Linked DNA regions of Homo sapiens: regions 2 and 3 are each linked to region 1. The links are contacts of gene promoters, found by promoter capture Hi-C in human tissues and cell types (Jung and others, 2019). All regions are on one chromosome and are shown on one strand. The core of a region is centred on a gene start or on the middle of the fragment in contact, and the rest is flanking DNA. Distances in the headings are between cores, read along the strand shown.

Region 1 (2,672 bases), core at 173-2,672:
AACTGAAGGGACATTTAAACTGTCAGCCTAATAATAAAGTAGAAAAAAACAGTTCCAGCTGGGTACGGTGGCTCAAGGATGTAATCCCAGAACTTTGGGAGGCTGAGGTGGGCGGATCACTTGAGGTCAGGAGTTTGAGACCAGCCTAGCCAAATGGCAAAACCCCGTTTCTACTAAAAATACAAAAATTAGCTGGGCGTGGTGGCGAGCACCTGCAATCCCAGCTACTCGGGAGGCTAAGGCAGGAGAATCCCTTGAACCTGGGAAGCGGAGGTTGCAGTGGGCCGAGATTGTGCCACTGCACTCCACCCTGGGCAAGAGTGAGACTGAGTCTCAAAAACAAAAAAAAAAAACACAGGCCTCAGCATCGCCTGGACCTGTTCTTGCTTGGGGCATCCCGTCGGTCACCAACCATGACAGCGAGGCGGGCCTGGCCTGTGCTCCACCGGAGGGGGCTTCTTGCACAGATGACCTGCTCATTTCAGCCCCTCCAGAATCTTCTGGCAGGCGCAGAGCAACAGGACGTCCATTTTACAGACGAGGAAACCGAGACACAGGGAAGGTTGCCATCTGCAACCCAGCCCGGTTTTTATCTTGTTTTTCTGTGTTTTAACTTTTTATTTAGACTTACAGTTTGAAACAGTGCTAGAATCGGAAGCATGTAAAGAAACCTGTGGACCTTTTATGCAGATACACTTAAGTTTTTAACCCATGTGCCTTATCACTGGGGACCTCTTGCACTCTCTCTCATGATTTTTTTCCCGAACTAGATGAGGATATTGACAAAGATTCTTGCTTGGCCAAACTGTAGTCGGGCTCCTGAAGCGCCTAGGCCACCTGCGCACTTCCTTGTAAAATCCACTTTTAGCAAGAAGCCTGGCTAAGTCAGTTTAGCCAGACCCTTCCCACCCGCTTGCTATCGGATCACCGTGGAGATCGGAGCCGGCTGCTCACCTGCGCCATCGCCGGCGACGCCCGATCACCCTGCCTGCCTGAAACCAGAAGCGCCTCATCCCTGGGGTTTCCTCTCAGAGACTGTCCATGCAGGGACCGCACCCTGCTCCGGGCTATCAATTCCCACTCGCCCTTGCTGTATTCAGCGGAGCCCAATGTCTCCCCAGCGGCGCCCCAGGCGCGGCCCCCCGCTGCTCACTCGCGCGCAGCGCCCGAGCGGAGGGAGGCCTCTCACGGCCACAGCCCGGGCCAGCCCAGGGGTGCGCAGCGGGGCCAAAGCGGCTTCTTTCGCTCCAGGAGCCGCGGCCGCGCCCTGAGGCTAAGGCAGGACTCCGGGCCGGCCCCGTCCCCGCGGCCCACCCACCTGGTCGGCGATGTGCTGGGTCTCGGCGGTGGCCGGCTGCGTGGCGGAGGGCGCCCCGCACATCATCTTGGCGGCGACGGAGGGAATCTGGCGAGGGGACTCGGCGAGGGGACGCGGCGGCTCCTCAGCCCAAGTAGGCGCTGGGGTCACGTGACGCGCGGGCGGAACCAAGGGGCGGGGAGGAGGCACTTTGGCTTCGGAGTCCCCTGCGGGGTCGCGGTGGCCCCGCAAGAAGGGACGCGCGGGGCGGGGCGCGGGGCGGGGCGCGGGGCGGGGAACCTGGCCACCACTCGCCGCAGGCTGGGTCTCCGCGCCCAGCGCTGGTGTCGGGAGGGAGCGCCCCCCTCCCGGGGCTGGTATCGTCTTTCCGGGCGCCGAGTCACACGGACCGGGGCGGGGGCGCGGCCGGGTGTCGCCGGTGGGTTGGGCGCGCAGGGTGGGACGATAGGGAAGGGGCAGTCGGAGTAGGCGCAATCCTGCAGGGTGGCGGGGTCCGGGCCGCGCACGAGGGAGGGCGGGGCGCAGCGCTGCAGGGGTCAGGGGTCAGGGGTCCCGGCCCCGCGGGAGCAGGTGTGCGGGCTGCAGTGGACATCACCGCTTGTGACCGAGAACACTGAAGGCTGAAGGGGGTGGACAGAGGGGCCCAGGGAGGGGGAGACGGCGCCCACGCGCTCCAGGCTGGGTGGGGGCAGGGGGTAGATCAGAGGGATGAGAAGAAGGCAGGGTTCTCTGGTGGAATTTGCGTTTTAGGATTTCTTTTCTTTCTTTCCTTTTCTTTTCTTTTTTTTTTTTTTTTTTTTTTTTTGAGACGGAGTCTCGCTCTGTCTCCCAGGCTGGAGTGCAGTGGCGCGATCTCGGCTTACTGCAGGCTCCGCCTCCCGGGTTCACGCCATTCTCCTGCCTCAGCCTCCCGAGTAGCTGGGACTACAGGCGCCCGCCACCACACCTGGCTAATTTTTGTATTTTTAGTAGAGACGGGGTTTCACTGTGTTAGCCAGGATGGTCTCGATCTCCTGACCTTGTGATCCACCCGCCTTGGCCTCCCAAAGTGCTGGGATTACAGGTGTGAGCCACTGCGCCCGGCCTTTTTTTTTTTTTTTTTGAGACGGAGTCTGGATCTGTCGCCTAGGCTGGAGTGCAGTGGCGCAATCTCGGCTCACTGCAAGCTCCGCCTCCGGGGTTCACACCATTCTCCTGCCTCGGCCTCCCGAGTAGCTGGGACTACAGGCGCGCGCCTTCATGCGCAGCTAATTTTTGTGTTTTTAGTAGAGACGGGGTTTCACCATATTGGCCAGGCTGGTCTCGAACTCCTGACCTCGTGATCCACCTGCCTCGGGCTCCCAAAGTGCTGGAA
Region 2 (2,672 bases), core at 51-2,550, 1.5 Mb before region 1:
GGGCTATGTTTGCACAACCCTCATTCTTAGAAAATGCTTCTGTCTGTTGAGCTGCAATCTGTATTTGAGCAATGTTCATTTGTGGATCCAGGTTCTGTTTTTTGAAACTCCGTAGACCAAGTTAATCTTGGTCTTGAAATAAGCTCACAAATCAAGGGGAAAAGCCCAGCCAAGTACAGAACAATAACCAAATACATTACAATCCAGAGCTACCTTGAGAGGAGGAAATAAGAAGCACATGGCCCTTGCAGGAAATGAGGTCAGAGTCCTGCTTTGGGAGGTGGGCATCACTGCGGCATCCGCAGGGTGCAGGTCAGTGGGCAGGCGCCCCTGCTGGAAGGTTCTTGCTGTCTGTAAACTGATAAGGGTGGAACCCGCTGGAAGGGCAGAACCTGAGTCACGTTCTTTCTGTTTCTTTTACTGTTATAAGGCAACTTGGTGCCTTCCAACCAAAAAAGTCCCCCTCTCTGATATCTCAACTGCCTGTCTTGAAAGTGAACCTTTTGGCAGGAGTTTTTATGGGATTTCTCAGTTGTTATTTCTCTCCTCCCACTGTTTTGGGAGAAGTGTTTTTTTTTGTTGTTGTTGTTTTAATTAAAAATAACTGGTGTTTACTGAGCAAATCGTGTTTGCTTTATTTGGCGCTTTGCCTCATTAAGCCTTTGGGGAGCAGCATGGGACACACATCAGTATGGGCATCTTCTCCAGAAGGGAAGGAGGGTGGAGGGGGAACGAGGGCCTGCCCAGGACCGCTGGCAGGTAGGGGGCAGGTCCAGGACTGGACTTAACACCTGGAGTCCCAACTCCCTGCCTCTATAAGCGCCACTGAGAACTCATCTCTTTGCAATCGCTCAGACCCAGATAATAAAATAAGCTGGGTTGAGTTTTCCTTACCCAAGACATAAACCCCAAACCCTGCTGACAATGAGGAGCTACAAAAGGCCTCTCCTCCTCCTGGGGCACGTGTTCCGGGAATTCTTTCATGGATGCAGGTATGGGGGCATCTTTGGCCTCTGTCCTTTGTCTGGAGCTCCCCGCACCTGGCTGGGGGCTGCACTGGACACCTCTGCCCACCCTGGCCCTGGGGTTATCAGGCCACCTGGCCTCCACCCAGACGTTCCCTCCCAGGGCGGGATTCATCCTGGCCCGTGGTGATGTGCAGGCTCCCGGAAGGCCGGGCTCTGCCCACTAAGTGTCAGCTCTAACGCAGGCTCTCCATACTGAGTAAAAAAGCCCGTCCTTTCTCTGGCTGGTGCAGGTGCTGACTCTGCAGGCCTGTGGACGCAGGGTGACGTTCGCGCTCTTGCCCGAGCTCAACGCCCGGGAGAAAACAGCGCTGCCGGAGCCCCTCGCGCGCGCAGGTGCGGGCGGGGCGGGTGCGCGCTGCCGCGCGTGTGCAGCGCCCGCCCATCCGCCGCCACCGCCCGCGCCGGGGTTACTACCGGTCAACGCTCGCTAGTAACCTCCGCGGCGGAGCGGCGGCGCGGGGAGCGGCGCGATTGGCTGCGGGCGCCCCGCGCTGTTGCCAAGCGCGAGGAGGCAGCTGCAGCCCCGAGCGGGGTCGCAGCCTCCCTGGGACAGGGGCGGCCCTATGCATAGGGGATCACCCGGGCCATGCAAATCCCGGCGCCCCGCGCGTGCTGGTGTTCTCCTCCCCAGGTCCAGGAACACCGGTCCAGGAAGCCTGAGAGCGCTGGCAGTAGGAAGGGTCGCCAGTGTGGACCTGAGGGTGGAGGTGTTGCCACCCGGGGCGGCCTGCGCTCCATTCAGGCTTGAGCGGTGACTGGGAGACCCCGGGAATGGAAATGGCGCTCAAATGCTGGTGTGGTGTCCGCAGGGGAACGGCCCGCGGGTGTGTGGAGTCTGCGCCCCTGTGGCTTCAGCTGCGTCGGGGGACTGCGGGAATCTTCCAGACTCCAGTTTAAATCAGAGAGGTGTGTCCACGAAAAGAGTCAAACTAAAACATTTAAAGAGATTTATCCTGAGTGACCATGGCCCGTGACACAGCCTCAGGAGACCAGGAGAACACGTGCCCAAAGGGGTCGGGAACAGCTTGGTTTCATACTTTTAGGGAGACGTAAGACAGTGATCAATATTTAAGATGTACATTGGTTCCGTCTAGAAAGGTGGGACAGCCCAAAGGGGGACTTCCAGGTTATAGGTAAATTTAAATTTTTTTCTAATTGGTTAAGTTATTATCGATAGAAAGGGATGTCTGGGTTACGATACGGGGCTGTGGGGACCTAGGTTGTATCATGCGGATGAGGCCTCCAGGCAGCAGGCTTGAGAGAGAACAGACTGTAAATGCTTCGTATCAGACTTAAGGTCTGTGTTGATGTTAATGTTACAGGCTACGATAAGGCATGTCAGACGGACCGCCACTTCCCGTCATGGCCTGAACCAGTCTTTCAGGGGAAATTTTAGAGTGCCCTGGCCAAGGAGGGAGTCCATCCCCATGGTTCAGGGGGCCTTTGAATTTTATTTTTGATTTACAGGTCTTTACTTCAGGTGGCACAATTTTCCTAGGAGACAGTTGATTTTTGATTCCTTATAAAACGTGCTGGTTTTGTTTTTAGCTGACAGTGTGGGGTGAAGCTGTAAGGGAGCCAGGGCCTCCTGGGGTTGATCCAAGCATGTCTGAGCCTTCTCTGGGGTCAGCACTGAAAAGTGGC
Region 3 (2,672 bases), core at 66-2,565, 1.3 Mb before region 1:
AGGCTGGTCTCAAACTCCTGAGCTCAGGCAATCTGCCCACCTCGGCCTCCCAAAGTGCTGGGATTACAGGTGTGAGCCACCGCGCCTGGCCTGATTTTTTTAAGTGCTCTCCTGGGAGAAAGTAGTAAAGAGGGCAGGGAAGTAGACATGAAAGGGCAGGCAGCTAAGGAAGGATGCCTTTGCAGGTGAAGTCCCAGACTTGGCCTAATCCAACAGGGACTCTGGGGGCATCAATCGCACTGCAGACTTTGTCCTGCTTCTTGCACTAGCTACTGGCTGTCTGGCCGGATGTGAATTTCAGGCACTTCTGGCTCTCCATACTGGGCAGGTAGTTCCAGCGCACAGAGGTGATAGCTTGAGTAGCAAATCAGGCGGAAGCTGGGAGATGAGTGCCCAGAGCTAGCAAAAAGGTCTGGGCAGGCACTGACAGCACCACTGCAGAGTCGCTAGATTTTTCAGTTAATTCTGAAAGTACCTCAACTCTGTACTGTGCATGCAGACCATAGTGGCTGAGGTTCCCTATCTGTCAGCCATGGAGAGGTCACTCTCTGGAGTAGGGAGGAACTACTCTCTGGGTGATAGAAATATTCCCACACAGAACCCAGCTCACAGGCTGGATGTGCCCTCTTTCTCCTCTCTGCTGCCTAACTCAGGAAATAACTCCAAAGACCTGGGTCAGTTCAGATGGGGACTGAAGAAAGCACATGTGAGGATACGCCTATAAGGTAATATCTTCAGGAACCCTCTCCTGAGCCCAGGGCCTCCTCAGCATTTCTTGGAGGCTGCCAGGAAGCAACTATCCTCCATGCATCTAAATGCCGGGGGAGCAAATCTCAGCTACAGAAATGACTTATTCAAGGGCAGTATGGCAGCGTGGGATGATCTGCTCATCCGAGAAAACTGCCTCGATGGGAATTAACACAGGGAGGAGGAAACTTCCAAAGCCTTCCGCTGGGAAATCTTTGCCTTTAATGGGAGGCAGGATGGGGGTGGGGGAAGAACGAGGCGGCATGTGGTAACCAGACGTCACAGCGTTTCACTTTTCACCATCAACTTCCAGGACGCACGCAGGTGTGTCTGGCGTGGCCTTCGTCCCTGCCGGGGATCCTGGGGAGCTGTGGCTCAGACCTCTGGTTTCTGCGCCTCCTCACTCTCCAAACCCAACCTCGAGGTTCCCCCGCCGCTGCGCACCCTGGGAAGCCCTTTCTCACCAGGAGCTCTCACCCCAATATCATTCTCTCCCTCCTCCTCCAACTCCTCCGAGCCCAGGTCCGACATGGTCTCGCCCCAGCCTGGATCACAGCCGCAGCGCCTCTAGCAGGTGGGTAGCAACCGCCTCCACCGCCGCGTCCCGCGTCGCCATGGAGACGCGGCCGGTCCCGCCTCCCTCCCAGCCCGGAAGATGGGGAGCGGGGACAGGCGACGCGGACGAAGCGGGAGGAGCCACTGGCAGCCTTTGCGTACTGTCATAGCAACGGGAAGGGCACCTCGACCAATCACCGCCCGGGAATACGGAGGGGCGGGGCGGAAGGGACGAGGTGGAGCCAGTGGCAGCACTCTGGTGCCGTCATAGCAACGAGGGGCCGCTTCGGCCAATCACTGCTCGGGAAGCGAGGGGGCGGGGACTGGGCAGGGCCTGAGCGGGTTCTGTGCCTGGCTGCCCACCGGCTCTCTGACCTGGACCTCGCCGTCGCTGGCCCCTGAAATCCATCACTTTTGTCGGCTGTTCTGTGACGCCACAACGAGGAGCCACCTGGGTACTGGGCCCTCAAGAGGAAGGACGCGGGAAACGCGTCCGGGCCAACTCTCGAGAGGGTTTCACCCCTGCCCAGTGCGGGCACTGCCCGCTCCCTTCCGCCCCCAGGCCTCGCAGGCCCCTCCGGGGATGCTGCCCACCCCCACTTACCTTTCTAGGCTCTGCTGACCCTTCGGGATTCGCGGCTAGCTGTGATGTGTCCGCCAAGATCTCTTCTCTTGTCTGTAAACAACTTCACTCTCAAGGAGGCAGCTCTGGCCTCTCAGCAGGTGCGGCCTACAGTGATGTCCGTCCGGGTTTTACATCCTTCCCCGACCTCGACATGAGTCCCAGCCCCCTCGGGCCTCTGACTCTCAGGTGTCCCCTACGATCGCCGTCCTCTCCTCTCGCTCCTGGCTCCCCTACACTGTCACACACCCACACAATCACAGACGCACACGCATGTACACGTGCAGGCTTGGAAATCTGCTTTACCTGACGCACTCCGCCTGCCGAAGGCCCCTCACATCTCCCATTTCCTCTGCCATCATCCCAGACTGCAAAGCTGTGTTATTTGTTGTTGCTGCAGGAGCTGGGGAGGAGTGACTGAATAACTATAGGATTTGGTCTTGATGGGAGAATCCCAGAAGCCAAATCCACGCGGTGAATAAGCTGCTGATCTTCCAGAGCACACATCCCCTAGAGATTCTTCCCAATGCTAATATGAAAGGTTACAACCATAACCCATCATCAGGCCCAAATATATTACTTACTGAATAAATACACAAGTTACAACAACACACGAGATTCCAAAATTATGTCGTTTTTTAGATGCAAAGATAAAAATGTTGTAAACACCAAAATTTAACAGCTTTTCTTATGGGGAAAAGTGGGGAGTTAGGGATAACAGATGATTATTATTTTCTTCTCTACATAT

What was found. The method cuts DNA at HindIII sites, captures the fragments that hold promoters and counts their contacts. A contact is called where the count stands out against the background at its distance.
Region 2: a contact is called between a fragment that was not itself captured here and the fragment with the promoter of CSTB in region 1, in 1 of the 25 tissues and cell types used here (dorsolateral prefrontal cortex).
Region 3: a contact is called between the fragment with the promoter of RSPH1 here and the fragment with the promoter of CSTB in region 1, in 1 of the 25 tissues and cell types used here (dorsolateral prefrontal cortex).

Annotation. Positions count from the first base shown.
Region 1 is chr21:43,774,886-43,777,557 of GRCh38, forward strand. CSTB (cystatin B) reads right to left here and starts at 1,423. Exons shown (of 3, transcript NM_000100.4): 1 at 1,319-1,423. The coding sequence starts at 1,384. RefSeq lists a silencer at 1,002-2,001. The HindIII fragment of the contact is 5,981 bases long and covers 1-2,672 here.
Region 2 is chr21:42,233,455-42,236,126 of GRCh38, forward strand. The region is part of intron 2 of ABCG1 (ATP binding cassette subfamily G member 1); the gene reads left to right. Among named protein-coding and RNA genes, the nearest start is that of ABCG1, 16 kb to the left of the region's middle. RefSeq lists silencers at 1,263-1,462, 1,473-1,542. The HindIII fragment of the contact is 6,850 bases long and covers 1-2,672 here.
Region 3 is chr21:42,494,909-42,497,580 of GRCh38, forward strand. It overlaps RSPH1 (radial spoke head component 1), which reads right to left and starts at 1,316. Exons shown (of 9, transcript NM_080860.4): 1 at 1,225-1,316. The coding sequence starts at 1,278. It overlaps RSPH1-DT (RSPH1 divergent transcript), which reads left to right and starts at 1,631. Exons shown (of 3, transcript NR_135518.1): 1 at 1,631-1,757; 2 at 1,915-2,025; 3 at 2,325-2,535. RefSeq lists silencers at 1,273-1,392, 1,423-1,662. The HindIII fragment of the contact is 9,831 bases long and covers 1-2,672 here.